2 separate regions of the Homo sapiens genome follow, and region 1 is linked to region 2. Evidence: promoter capture Hi-C in 16 types of primary human blood cells and fetal thymus (Javierre and others, 2016). All regions are on one chromosome and are shown on one strand. Each heading gives the region's core, a stretch centred on a gene start or on the middle of the fragment in contact. The rest is flanking DNA. Distances are from core to core; before and after follow the strand shown. Region 1 overlaps E2F7 (E2F transcription factor 7). Region 2 holds the start of GLIPR1L1 (GLIPR1 like 1).

Region 1 (5,882 bases), core at 166-2,665, 1.7 Mb before region 2:
GGCTCATGCCTGTAATCCTAGCACTTTGAGAGGCCAAGATGGGATGATTACTTGAAGCCAGGAGTTTGAGATGAACCTTGGTAACATAGTGAGACCCCGATCTCTACAAAAAATTAAAAAAGGCCAGGCCTGGTGTCTCATGCCTGTAATTCTAGCACTTTGGGAGGCTGAGGCAGGAGAATCACTTGAAGCCAGAAGTTCAAGACCAGCCTGGGCAACATGGCAAGACCCCGTCTCCACACAAAATTTTAAAAATTAGCTGGGTGCAGTGGTGTGCACACCACTGTAGTATGCACACCACTGGAAATCCCAGCACTTTGGGAGGCTGAGGTGGGAAGATCACTTGAACCCAGGAGTTTGAGGCTGCAGTTAGCTGTGATCATGCCACTGCCCTCCAGCCTGGGTTACAGAGTGAGACCCTATCTCCAAAAAATAAAATATAAGTATTTGGGTGTAGTGGTGCATGTCTGTGGTCCCAGCTACTTGGGAGGCTAAGGCGAGAAGATTGCACGTGCCCAGGAGTTTGAGGCTATAGTGAATTATGATCACACCACTGTACTCAGGCTGGGCAACAGAGTGAGACCCTATCTTTTAAAAAAAAAAAAAAAGTAAGAAAAATAAACCTCAGTAGCAATTCAGTATTGCCACCATATCTAAGCTTATGATTAGTGGTCTCTTCTTGTTGAAGAAGCTGTGGGTCAGTTTGAGTGACAAACTCAAATGGCAAATCACATCTGGTGGGAGTTGTGTTGCACATTAGTCCTGTGAAGTAAGGTCACATATCAGTTTGCAGGAGTTTGGAAATCTAAAAAAACGAGTCCTTTACCATGGGTAGTTTGAGATGCACTGCTCTGGAGAATGACGTTAGAGAGCTCTCTAGGTTGGCTTAAAATGTGGGATTTTGTTGGATGCTCTTCCATTAACTGGTCCTGCTACTAAGTGCTGTATTAGCACTGGTGCACATTGAACTACAGAAGCATTGTTGCTCTTCACTAGTCAATGCAAACTTGTAAGTAGTGTTTTAAAAAAGGTGACACTTAGAAACAATATGGACTCAACCCACATTGGCCCTCATAGTCCTCATCTGTTATAAACATGCAACAGTAACAGATACGTTGTGATTTCTTTTACAGAGATACCATGAAAGATAGGTGTAAAAGGAGTAGCAGAGTATAATCTACTTCTCATTGGAGCCACTCTTCTATTCCCATGACTACTTTTCGTTAGTCCTATCCTGATACTTTTCAGCCCTAAACATATGGTCCTATTTGTATTTTCAAGTCTTAGTGAATGGTGGGAACAAAGTATACTCTTAGCTGATACCTGCCCTTTCTCATTCTTGCTAAAAGTTTCTTTTTTAAAATAGGAAAATATATTTGTTGATCGATCAAGGATGGCCCCGAAGACTCCAATAAAAAATGAACCAATTGATTTATCGAAGCAAAAAAAATTTACTCCAGAAAGAAATCCCATTACTCCAGTTAAGTTTGTTGACAGACAGCAAGCGGAACCATGGACACCCACAGCTAACCTGAAGATGCTCATTAGTGCTGCCAGCCCAGATATAAGGGACCGGGAGAAGAAAAAGGGACTATTCCGACCCATTGAAAACAAGGACGATGCATTTACAGATTCTCTACAGGTAAACAGACTGTGCTCCTCAGGGATTTTTTAGAACTTAAACAATTTTACTTGATTATTAAAAAATCATAGAACTGTCAACTTTTCAGCTCCTATTGAGCCAAAAGCAGTGGCAAACTGAATATCTTTTGATTTGTAGTAGAATTCTCATTCTATCTTATTTTTCATAATGAATGCTTTCTTTTCTGTATGATACTCCCTGGACCAGGGCTCATTTAAAAATGATAAATTATTTTAAAGTAATGATATTTAATCATTTTTATTTAATGAAGGAATTTGGATTCTTTAAATGCTGCTGTGAATTTTAATTTTGCCCAGATTTTAGGGATAATGTTAATGTAAATATTTTTGATTTAGGAAATTCCATTATTCTTATATATGTTCAGTTGGTTAGTTTGGGGCTTTATTGAAGTTAAGCCATCTTTAAATTACCTGTTCTGTGGGGAACCAGTGCTGTTGAATAAGCAGCATGTCTATACTTCGTTAAAAAAAAAAAAAAAGGTAATTATTTTCACTTCCCATCAAGCTTTTTCTCAGACTTCCTAAGAAAAGTTTTGCAGATTTCAGTATTCTTAACCATTTTTCTCTTTTTGGCGGATTTTTCAAGCTATAAAAATTGCCAAAATGAAGAAATTGGGAAGAGAGAAAAAAGATGTCTCGAATTACAACTTGAAATTCATAGAACAGAATGAATTTAATCTGTTATATATCTTGCAGTGGTAGAGTAGCGGTAGTAGTAAGAGATTCTTTCATGTAACTAAATACAAATCACACAGTAGTTCCTATGTGCTTGAAGCCAGAGGAATTTCACAATTCCTTTTTTTAAGTCTGGGCTGTTCTTTGGCTTCCTTTCCGTCTTATGTTTGATGTGGATCACACAAGGAGCTGGTCTAAGGCCTTAGGTTCAAATCACTAGCTGGGTGAGTTGGGGATATCACTCAGGATCTCTGCATCTCAATTTACTCACCTGTAAAATGAGGGTCGTGGTACCTGTCCTGGTTTTATTGGGGTTCTAAAAACTAAATAAGATTAAATGTGCCTTTTGTTGTCAAAGGCATGTAAGTATTAGATTTTTTGTAATTTTTTTGACAAAAATATAGCAAAGTGAAAATCAGCCAATGGGAATCGTTAGTGACCTCTTTCGCAAGGTAACATTGTTGATCTCTTACTTTGGCAGAACTAGTTGTTTAACACGCCCCTAAAACAATTAAAATTTTGGTTTTCTACCCAGGCTTTATAGAGAGATTTTAGCGATCAGTCACTAGAAAGGTTCACCACCTGTAGGAAGTAAATGCCTAAAATTTCGGTGGATTTAAAACAGACTTTCTTTTAAAATCTAGGGCTTTAATATCTTTCAGCAGTGTTTCACAATTTTTGGTATACAGGTGTTATACATCTTTTGTCAGATTTATCTCTAGGTTTCCAAATTTTTTGATGCTATTGCAAATTGTATTTTTTTTTTAGTTTCAATTTCCCATAGTTTGTTTCTAGTATATACAAATACAATTGATTTTTTTGTGTGTGTGTATTGATCTTGTATCCAGAAAACTTACTATACTGATGCTTTTAATGTCTGATTTATTAGATCAAAGTCAAGTGTTTTAAGTAGTTTTTTTTTTTCTTTCTAACTTTTAAGTTCAGTGGGTACATGTGCAGGTTTGTTACATGGGTAAGTTGCATTTTGCGAGTGTTTGGTGTACAGATAATTTGGTCACCCAGGTAATCAGCATAATACCCAATAGGTAGTTTTTCAATTCTCACCCTCCTCTCACCCTCTACCCTCAAGTAGGCCCTGGTGTCTATTGTTCCCTTCTTACTGTCTTGGGGTACTCAGTGTTAAAACAGACTTTTTTATACCTTTTTAAAACTAGTCTTTATTACCTTTTGATAGACTATTTGATCATGTAAAATACACTTATCCTTTGCAGTACCTTTAACACCATGAATCTACCTCTCAGCCCAAAAATGGATGCGATGTAATTAATTTACATTTCTCTCCCCAACAGAATAACCATTCTTCTGAATTTGTATTTATAGTCTTAGAGGACTTGCTTTTGTCAATCAACATACATCCTTTAGGTTCATTTGTGTTTTCGCATGTAGCTGTAGTTCTTTCATGGCTGTATGATATTCCATTGCATGACTACACCACAATTTATTCATTCTCCTGTTTATAGCCATTTGGGTTGTTTGCAGTTTAGGGCTAATACAGACTATGCTATGATATTCGTTCTTGTTTATGTCTGCTGGTGTACATATACAAGTTTGCCTTGGGCAGTGGTTCTCAAAAGGTCATCTGGGGACCTCAGTGTCCACAGACAGTCTTTCAGAGAGTCAGGAGGTCAAAACTGTTTTTCATAATTATACAAAGACCTTTGCCATTTGAACTCCCATTCTCTCCCAAGTGTACACTGGAGTCTTCCAGGAAGTACACAATGTGGATATTGCAACAGACTGACTACAAAAGGCAAGCACAAGAATCAGTTCTCTTCTATTAATCCAGAAACTAAAGAGATTTGAAAAATAATATATAAAATGCCCCTTTCTCACAAAACATTTTAACTGCCTCAATTTTAATTTCTAACATGCTAACTATCAATAGATAACCCACATAAACAAAAAGCCCTGTGGAGTCCTCAGTAGTTTTTAAGAACATAAAGGGGTCCTTGGAGCAAAAAGTTTGAGAACTACTGTTTTGGGTACATACCTACTAGTATAGGTGCTACGTCATTAGATATACAGATGTTCACAAGATAATGCCAAATTGCTTTCCAAAGTACTATTTGCCTCCCCCCAGAAATATATAAACTTTTAGTCACCCATATCCTCTCTGACACTTGAAATTGTCAAATTTAGTAATTTCTGCTAATCTCATGTCTATACAGTATGTATCTTTTTGTGATATACATTTGCTTTTCTTTGATTACTCATGAGATTAAGCTTCTTTCCACATGTTTACTGGCCACCATGTTTTTTGCTCCTCTGTGAAATGCCTGTTTGTGTTCTTTGCCAATTTTAATTGGTTTTTTTTTGTCATGTTGATTTGTAGGGGTTGATTATATAATGATACTAAACCTTTATTATATATGTTATGTATCTATTCTTTCAGTTCGGTAATTGTCTTTTCCCTTTATGTTATTTCTTGATGGACAAAAGTTCTTAAGTTTAATATAGTTCATTTTTTCCTTTTAAGGGTAATGTTTTTTGTGTCTGAAGAAGCTCTTCCCTATTCCAAGGTTAGAAAAATATTCTCCTTCATTTTCTTCATTTAAAATTTGCTTTACATGAAATCCTTGATCCATTTGGAATTGCTTTTTGTGTATGGTATGAGTCAAGATACAACTTTGCTTTTCTATACATATCATCAGTTGTCCCTGCACCATTTATTCAGGAGGTCTTTCTCTTCCCCCTAGCTGGCAGTGCAACTGCTTTCATATTAAAATTCCATTTACATGTGTGTCTGTTTCTGAACTCCTCCTGTTCCATTGTCCATCCCTGCCCTAATACCCTATTGTAATAAGCACTGATATCAGGTAAAATGGGACCCTCAACTTATTTTTCTTCAGTGTGTGGGCTACTCTGGGCTGTTTGTTCTTCCATGTGTATTTTAGATTGGATTTTATTGAGATTGCATTTAATCTAGAGATTAAAAATTAACCTCTTTAAGATACTGAGTTTTCTTATCTATGAAGACAATATATTTCACTAAATTTTAAGTATTCTTTAAAATCTAAGTTTTAGGATTTTATGCAAATAGATTTTTGCTAGATTTATTTCTAAAATCCTTATCATTTTTGTTGCTTTCGTAAATGATGTCTTTTCAATTTATTTGCTGTTACTGTTGTACAGGAATGCAGCAGACTTTAAAAAACATATTATCTTGTATTCAACTACCTTGCTAAATTCTAAAACTATTTTTAATGATTTGTCTGAAATTCTTTTGAGTTTTTTTGTATGAATAGTGACATCTTCTGCAGAAGGAAAGTAGCTGATTACTTTCCAGTCCCTGTGCCTCAGTTTCTTTTTCGTGTCCTCATGCATTGACTAGAGTCTTCAATATGAGATAGAAGAGAAAGTGATAATGGGCATCCATATTGTTTCCTGACTTTAAGGGAACACGTCCAAGGTTTTACAAATAGATGTTTGCTGTTGTGTTTTCATGAATACCTTTCATTGAAGAAGTTCTCTGTTATTCCTAGGTTTTTTTAATTGTATTTTTATTATACTTTAAGTTCTAGGGT
Region 2 (5,647 bases), core at 267-2,766:
ATATTAAAATATGCATTCTTAACTTCTCACGGTCCATCCAGAAATATTATTGTGATTCTTAACAATATAAGGAACTTTCAGCAGAATAATTCTATTGACACTTCACTTCATTTTTTATGCATTGGTTATAATGTGTTTAGTTTCTACATTATTATAAACTCCACAATTCATTGTTATCATATTTTGCTTTAAATAGTCAATGAGTACAAAAGAAATATAAAGAACATTTATTATATTTAACCCCACATTTACTCTTTTTTATCATACATTTACAATAAAACTCTAAAGGCATCAACCATATTAATACTAATATTAGTATTTCTGAATTCCGTTGAAGATTTATTTCTAGTTAATTTATGCCTTGGACAACCCCAAGCTGGTAAACATTATATATTAAAATATCTTAACAATTCTGCATTAAAGAGATTAGTTTATTCTTGTTTCATTTCTGATACATATTTGAATCTTTCTCCATCAAAATATAATTTTCTTATACAGTAGACTAGTACAGTTTTGAACTTATTTTAATGCCTGAGTTGTGATTTTATAATTACTTTTGTTTTCCACTGGATAGAAAAGAAGAAAGCTGGAATAGATATGAGTTATACTGTATCTACATCTGCATAGCACATAAAATAGACTAATACTATCAACGTTTATGCTCATAGTGATGCATTTATAAACAAGAAAAAGTTACAATGCAAGGGAAATTTCCAATCATACAATTCATAGTCAAGTATTTAAAATTTTGTAAATTCTATGGATTATTTAATAATCCAATGCTTTTTATGCTTATTCTTCAATAGAGTACTGTATTTTTTTCAAATAATACTACACATGAAGTGTTGTTTTGATCTTGGATTCATATGATATAAAAATAAGTAAGAGAACAAGAGAATCTCCATTCCTGGGCTATTTCTTTGGTATCTTGTATCTTGGTTGTGGGGGGTGGAAATTGCTAGCTAAAAAATGGAAGAAAGAAAACAAAATAATCCTGTGTTCAGTACTTATAACTTTAGTGGTGCAACAAAGCAACTTCCAAACACTGCTCCAGCATCCCCACCTTCCCCGCAAGAGGCAAGGAACAGCTTCAAGTCTTCCTTTCTTGTTCACTCCTATGACTCTGGAGGAGACAGCCCAACCAAGGTGTGAATTTTTTTCTTTTTAACTGCATATATGTAAAGTCCGGATTGAATTAGTACAAGTTAAGTCCGTGAAATTTATCACCCAGATACCTCAGGATGAGTCAGGGATTTAAGAGCCCAGCCCTGGTTCTTTCTCACCATGTATTTCATGTCGGCCGCGGGAGGGTTGACTTTGCCACGCCATTCGTTGTGGGCTTCTATGCAGTTGTCTATAAAGTGTGGGTCAGTGATGGATGGGATTTTGGAAGATGTAGTGGCTACCAAACACAGACCCAAGATCCATAAACAACTGAATTTATTCTTCAGAGCCATGGAAGGATGTGGAGGATGCGGAGGATGCCCTGACTGCGCGGACCAGTAACGGCTGGGGCAACCCGATTTCCCCACGCCCCCGCACCACGCTCTCCCTTGGCTCCATCCTGCCGCACAGGCTCGAGCCCAGCGCGGCTGGATCAACTTGTCAGTGTCGCTGTGGGGAAGAACAGGCAGCAGGGTTCCCCTTCCACAAAGCTCTGAGCTACAGGGGAAAGCTCTGAGTCGCCCTCTGGTGGAGGGAATTTCAACCATCCAAACTGCTTTCTGTGGATCCAATCTGTAATCTGCAGAGCGCGTCTGGATTGTAATACAGATTGCAATATGCAAGCCACACAAGTTAGGTAAAGAACAAGTGCGGGATGCTGACAATGGGCCAGTCGAGTGCAAAGCACTATATATTCGTTTCTTAGACGCAGCTTCCGTGTATAGATTTTTATTGTTCTAAATAATCTAGAATCATATTGCCACTTCCCTCAGAGATTGGGAATAGAGTAAGAATAGGCAATTCTTATACAGTGACATACAGTGATCCTAAATTATCAACTTGTCAAACATTTAATAATTTCCTTCTGTTTTTTCGTCTGAAGAGACCGAATGCTTAGATAGATAACAATAGATGCTTGGAAAATGTAGCCAAGTAGTTCCTCTTGACAAAATCTTCCCTTTTTGATAGTTTGGAACAGAGCCACTGTATGGTGACTGGTAGACTCCAAGAGTTGCTTTAATTGATACACTGAGACTGGGATGGACAGAGTACATTTGATTGTCTATTTTACCTGCAATGCAATATAAATCAACGTCATTTGGCTTAATGTTTTAAATTCATTACATCAGTTATATTGATATTCTGTAATAAACCAGCATTTTTCCCCATGACATTAATTTTTTTTAGTATTTCTATGTTTCAAATAAATACCTTTACTTAGTAATTTGAAGTTGTTTACAATGCTGTTTAATTCAAGTGAACACGTACTTACATCTGCTGAATGATCCGCCATAGTCAACCTTGACACAAAAAACAAAAACCAAAACAAACTACTTTGATGCAGCTACTATCTTTTTAAAAATAAAAAGCAGAAAATTAGATTATAAGAAAACGAAAAATGCAAGGATCCTAATGGAAATTCTACTGGGCAATAGATAATATATTTCTAGTCTACTACCAGCTAATGGAGAATTGCTGTATATACTACTTTCATATCACATACATAGTCCAAACTGAGCTTCTGATATCCCACACCCAAAGACATGAACATATATACGTGTGTGTGTGTGTGTATATGTGTGTGTGTAGGTATACAGATAGATAAATCAATACAGTTATATACATCTACATGTGTCTATATATATATGTCTCTTCCTGGATATAAAGATATCTATAGGCATATACACACATACATATACACACATACATTTATATATGTAAAGTTCTCTCTATGTATAAATCTGTTTGTATACACATATATGTGTGTGTGTCTGCCTATAGACATATATACATCTACACAGAGAGAGATACAGATGTCTATAGGCATATATACATATACATATGTTTGTATACAAAGAGAAAGAGAACTTTTAAGGAATTGGCTCACATTACAGTGGGGGGCTACAATAAAAAATCTGAAGTCCTAGGTATGGCCCAAAAGACACTACATAATCTGACCATGGCTAGTTCTCTGGCATTCTCTCCTGGCTTATTCTGCATCAGCCACATCCATCAGCTTGATAAGGATGCTCTCTCCTCAGCATCTTTGCACTTGCTGTTACTTTTGCCTGCAGTGCTCTTTATAGAGTTCCCTTCAGTGAAGTCTTCCCTGATCATTCTATATCCCCTGTCTGTCAGTGCCTATCCATTTAACCTGTTTTATTTTTCTTCATTGCATTAATTACCTCCTGAATTTATGTTATTTATTTTTTTAACATCTGCCTTCTCTATCAGATTGTAGCCTTCACCACAACAGTAGCTTTGTTTTCTTCATTGCTACATCTCTAGCACCTTGAACAGGAACTGAATCTTTAGGCTCTCAATAAAAATTGGTCGAATAAATAAATGAGTTCTCTTTAACTTTCTAATAATGTTGTATACAACTGTAAGCTTCTTGAGAGCAGAAACTATATTTTAATTGTTATATATATGTATATATACATATGAGGGGCTCAATAAATATTTTTGACTTAATCACATAAAAGGAAATGCTGGGTAAGCTTATATATTTCACTTTTTCTAACACTGGGTATATTTGAAGATAGAAGGTGTTCAGTGGATGTTTGTCAAATACATAAGTGGCTGAATGAACAAATAAATACAAAGATAAAGTAAAATATTTTCAAGTAGTAGGTACTCAGTGAATGTTGGCTGCATTAATGAATGATCAAGTAAATGAAAATTTAAAGTTGAGCTTCAAATGCAAACTCTTTTGGAACTGCAAAACAGTAAAGGTTGATAGGGATAAGGTTAATAGGGATAAAGGTTAACAGATAGCTAATTTAGTTTCATTTAGTGTATAGAGAAATTAACTGCCTGTAACAACAACAGAAATTTCATAGAGTAATGAATTTAAAGATTGGCAAAAGTAGAGTATATATAGTCAAACATAATCCAAGATTATTGCTCTTCTAAGAGACGTTTTTAATAAAATGTCTGAATTGTATACATTATGTTTTTTAGATCATGTTCCCAATGGCTTAGACAGCTATATTCAGAAATACTAAAACAATTTAGGTGTAAAAAGTCTAATTGCCAGGAATCAACAAGTGCATGTCCTAATGTTATTTTCTTGAACATCTATTTCTGGAATGGCCAAGGTTAGTTGGTGCACCAGAATTTTTAAGTTCTTTTATAACTTTTTAAAAGTTAAATTTAGGCCGGGCGCGGTGGCTCACGCCTGTAATCCCAGCACTTTGGGAGGCCGAGGGGGGCGGATCACGAGGTCAGGAGATCGAGACCATCCCGGCTAAAACGGTGAAACCCTGTCTCTACTAAAAATACAAAAAATTAGCCGGGCGTAGTGGCGGGCGCCTGTAGTCCCAGCTACTTGGGAGGCTGAGGCAGGAGAATGGCGTGAACCCGGGAGGCGGAGCTTGCAGTGAGCCGAGATCCCGCCACTGCACTCCAGCCTGGGCGACAGAGCGAGACTCCGTCTCAAAAAAAAAAAAAAGTTAAATTTAGCTTTCTGTTTTATTTTTATGTGTGTTTTCTGCTATTTATTTTTGCTTTTCTTTCTATGTGGGGGTAATGGATAGATGAATTTTATGGAGTGCAGCAGAAAAATACAGAGTGATTACATTATACCTCATTTCCTTCACTATTTTTATACTTTAAAAATTTATTTGTATTTTTACTCCCAAATTTGCACCAGGAAATACTGGAAATATTCACGTTTTGATACATACATTCTGAGGGGAGCTAATTTTGAAAAGTTACTGCAGATTAGAAAAACATGATTATGAAAGAACTGGATTAACTTTCATAAACTCTTACTTCTAATTTGAATATCTGACTCTTGGCTGTGTAATTTAGGAAAGTTAGTGCATATTAGAGTGGAGTGGATCCTTGGAATTATCTCAAACCAGCTTTTTCCCTTTATAGATGAGGAGTTGATGCCAAGATATTGTGTACAGAGCATACATAAAAATATTTAGGCCGGGCATGGTGGCTCATGCCTGTAAATCACAGCACTCTGGGAGTCTGAGGCAGGGTATCACCTGAGGTCAGGAGTTCGAGACCAGCCTGCCCAACATGGTGAAACCCCCTCTATATAAAGATACAAAATATTAACCGGGCGTGGTGGTGGGCGCATGTAATCCCAACTACTTGGGAGGCTGGGGCAGGAGAATCGCTTGAACCTGGGAGGCAGAGGTTGCAGTGAGTCGAGATTGTGCCATTGCACTCCAGCCTGGGCAACAAGAAGGAAACTCCGTCTCAAAAAAAAAAAAAGGCAAAGAATAAAATGCAGGTTTCTTGATTTCTAGGCCTTTGCCCTTTCCACACATCATTTTAAATTTTAATTATATATACACACACAAATACACATACATATATATGCAATTATTCATGTAATCATCTATATGTACATAGTCACACAAATTTAAAGTAATATCCATGTCTAATATCTATGTATCTCTATATAATATATTACAGTCTTTAAAAAAAATAAGTGCAAGCTCCTTGAGAGCAGATATTGTAG

The links. The method cuts DNA at HindIII sites, captures the fragments that hold promoters and counts their contacts. A CHiCAGO score of 5 or more calls a contact.
Region 1: a fragment that was not itself captured here is called in contact with the fragment with the promoter of GLIPR1L1 in region 2 in 2 of 17 cell types (M1 macrophages and M2 macrophages); the score reaches 5.8 in M1 macrophages.

Annotation. Positions count from the first base shown.
Region 1 is chr12:77,051,615-77,057,496 of GRCh38, reverse strand. It overlaps E2F7 (E2F transcription factor 7), which reads left to right. Exons shown (of 13, transcript NM_203394.3): 3 at 1,367-1,642. Among named protein-coding and RNA genes, the nearest start is that of E2F7, 11 kb to the left of the region's middle. The HindIII fragment of the contact is 1,509 bases long and covers 661-2,169 here.
Region 2 is chr12:75,330,539-75,336,185 of GRCh38, reverse strand. GLIPR1L1 (GLIPR1 like 1) reads right to left here and starts at 1,516. Exons shown (of 6, transcript NM_001304964.2): 1 at 1,284-1,516. The coding sequence starts at 1,457. It also overlaps a transcript of CAPS2 not described here. RefSeq lists a silencer at 1,670-1,779. The HindIII fragment of the contact is 15,549 bases long and covers 1-3,557 here.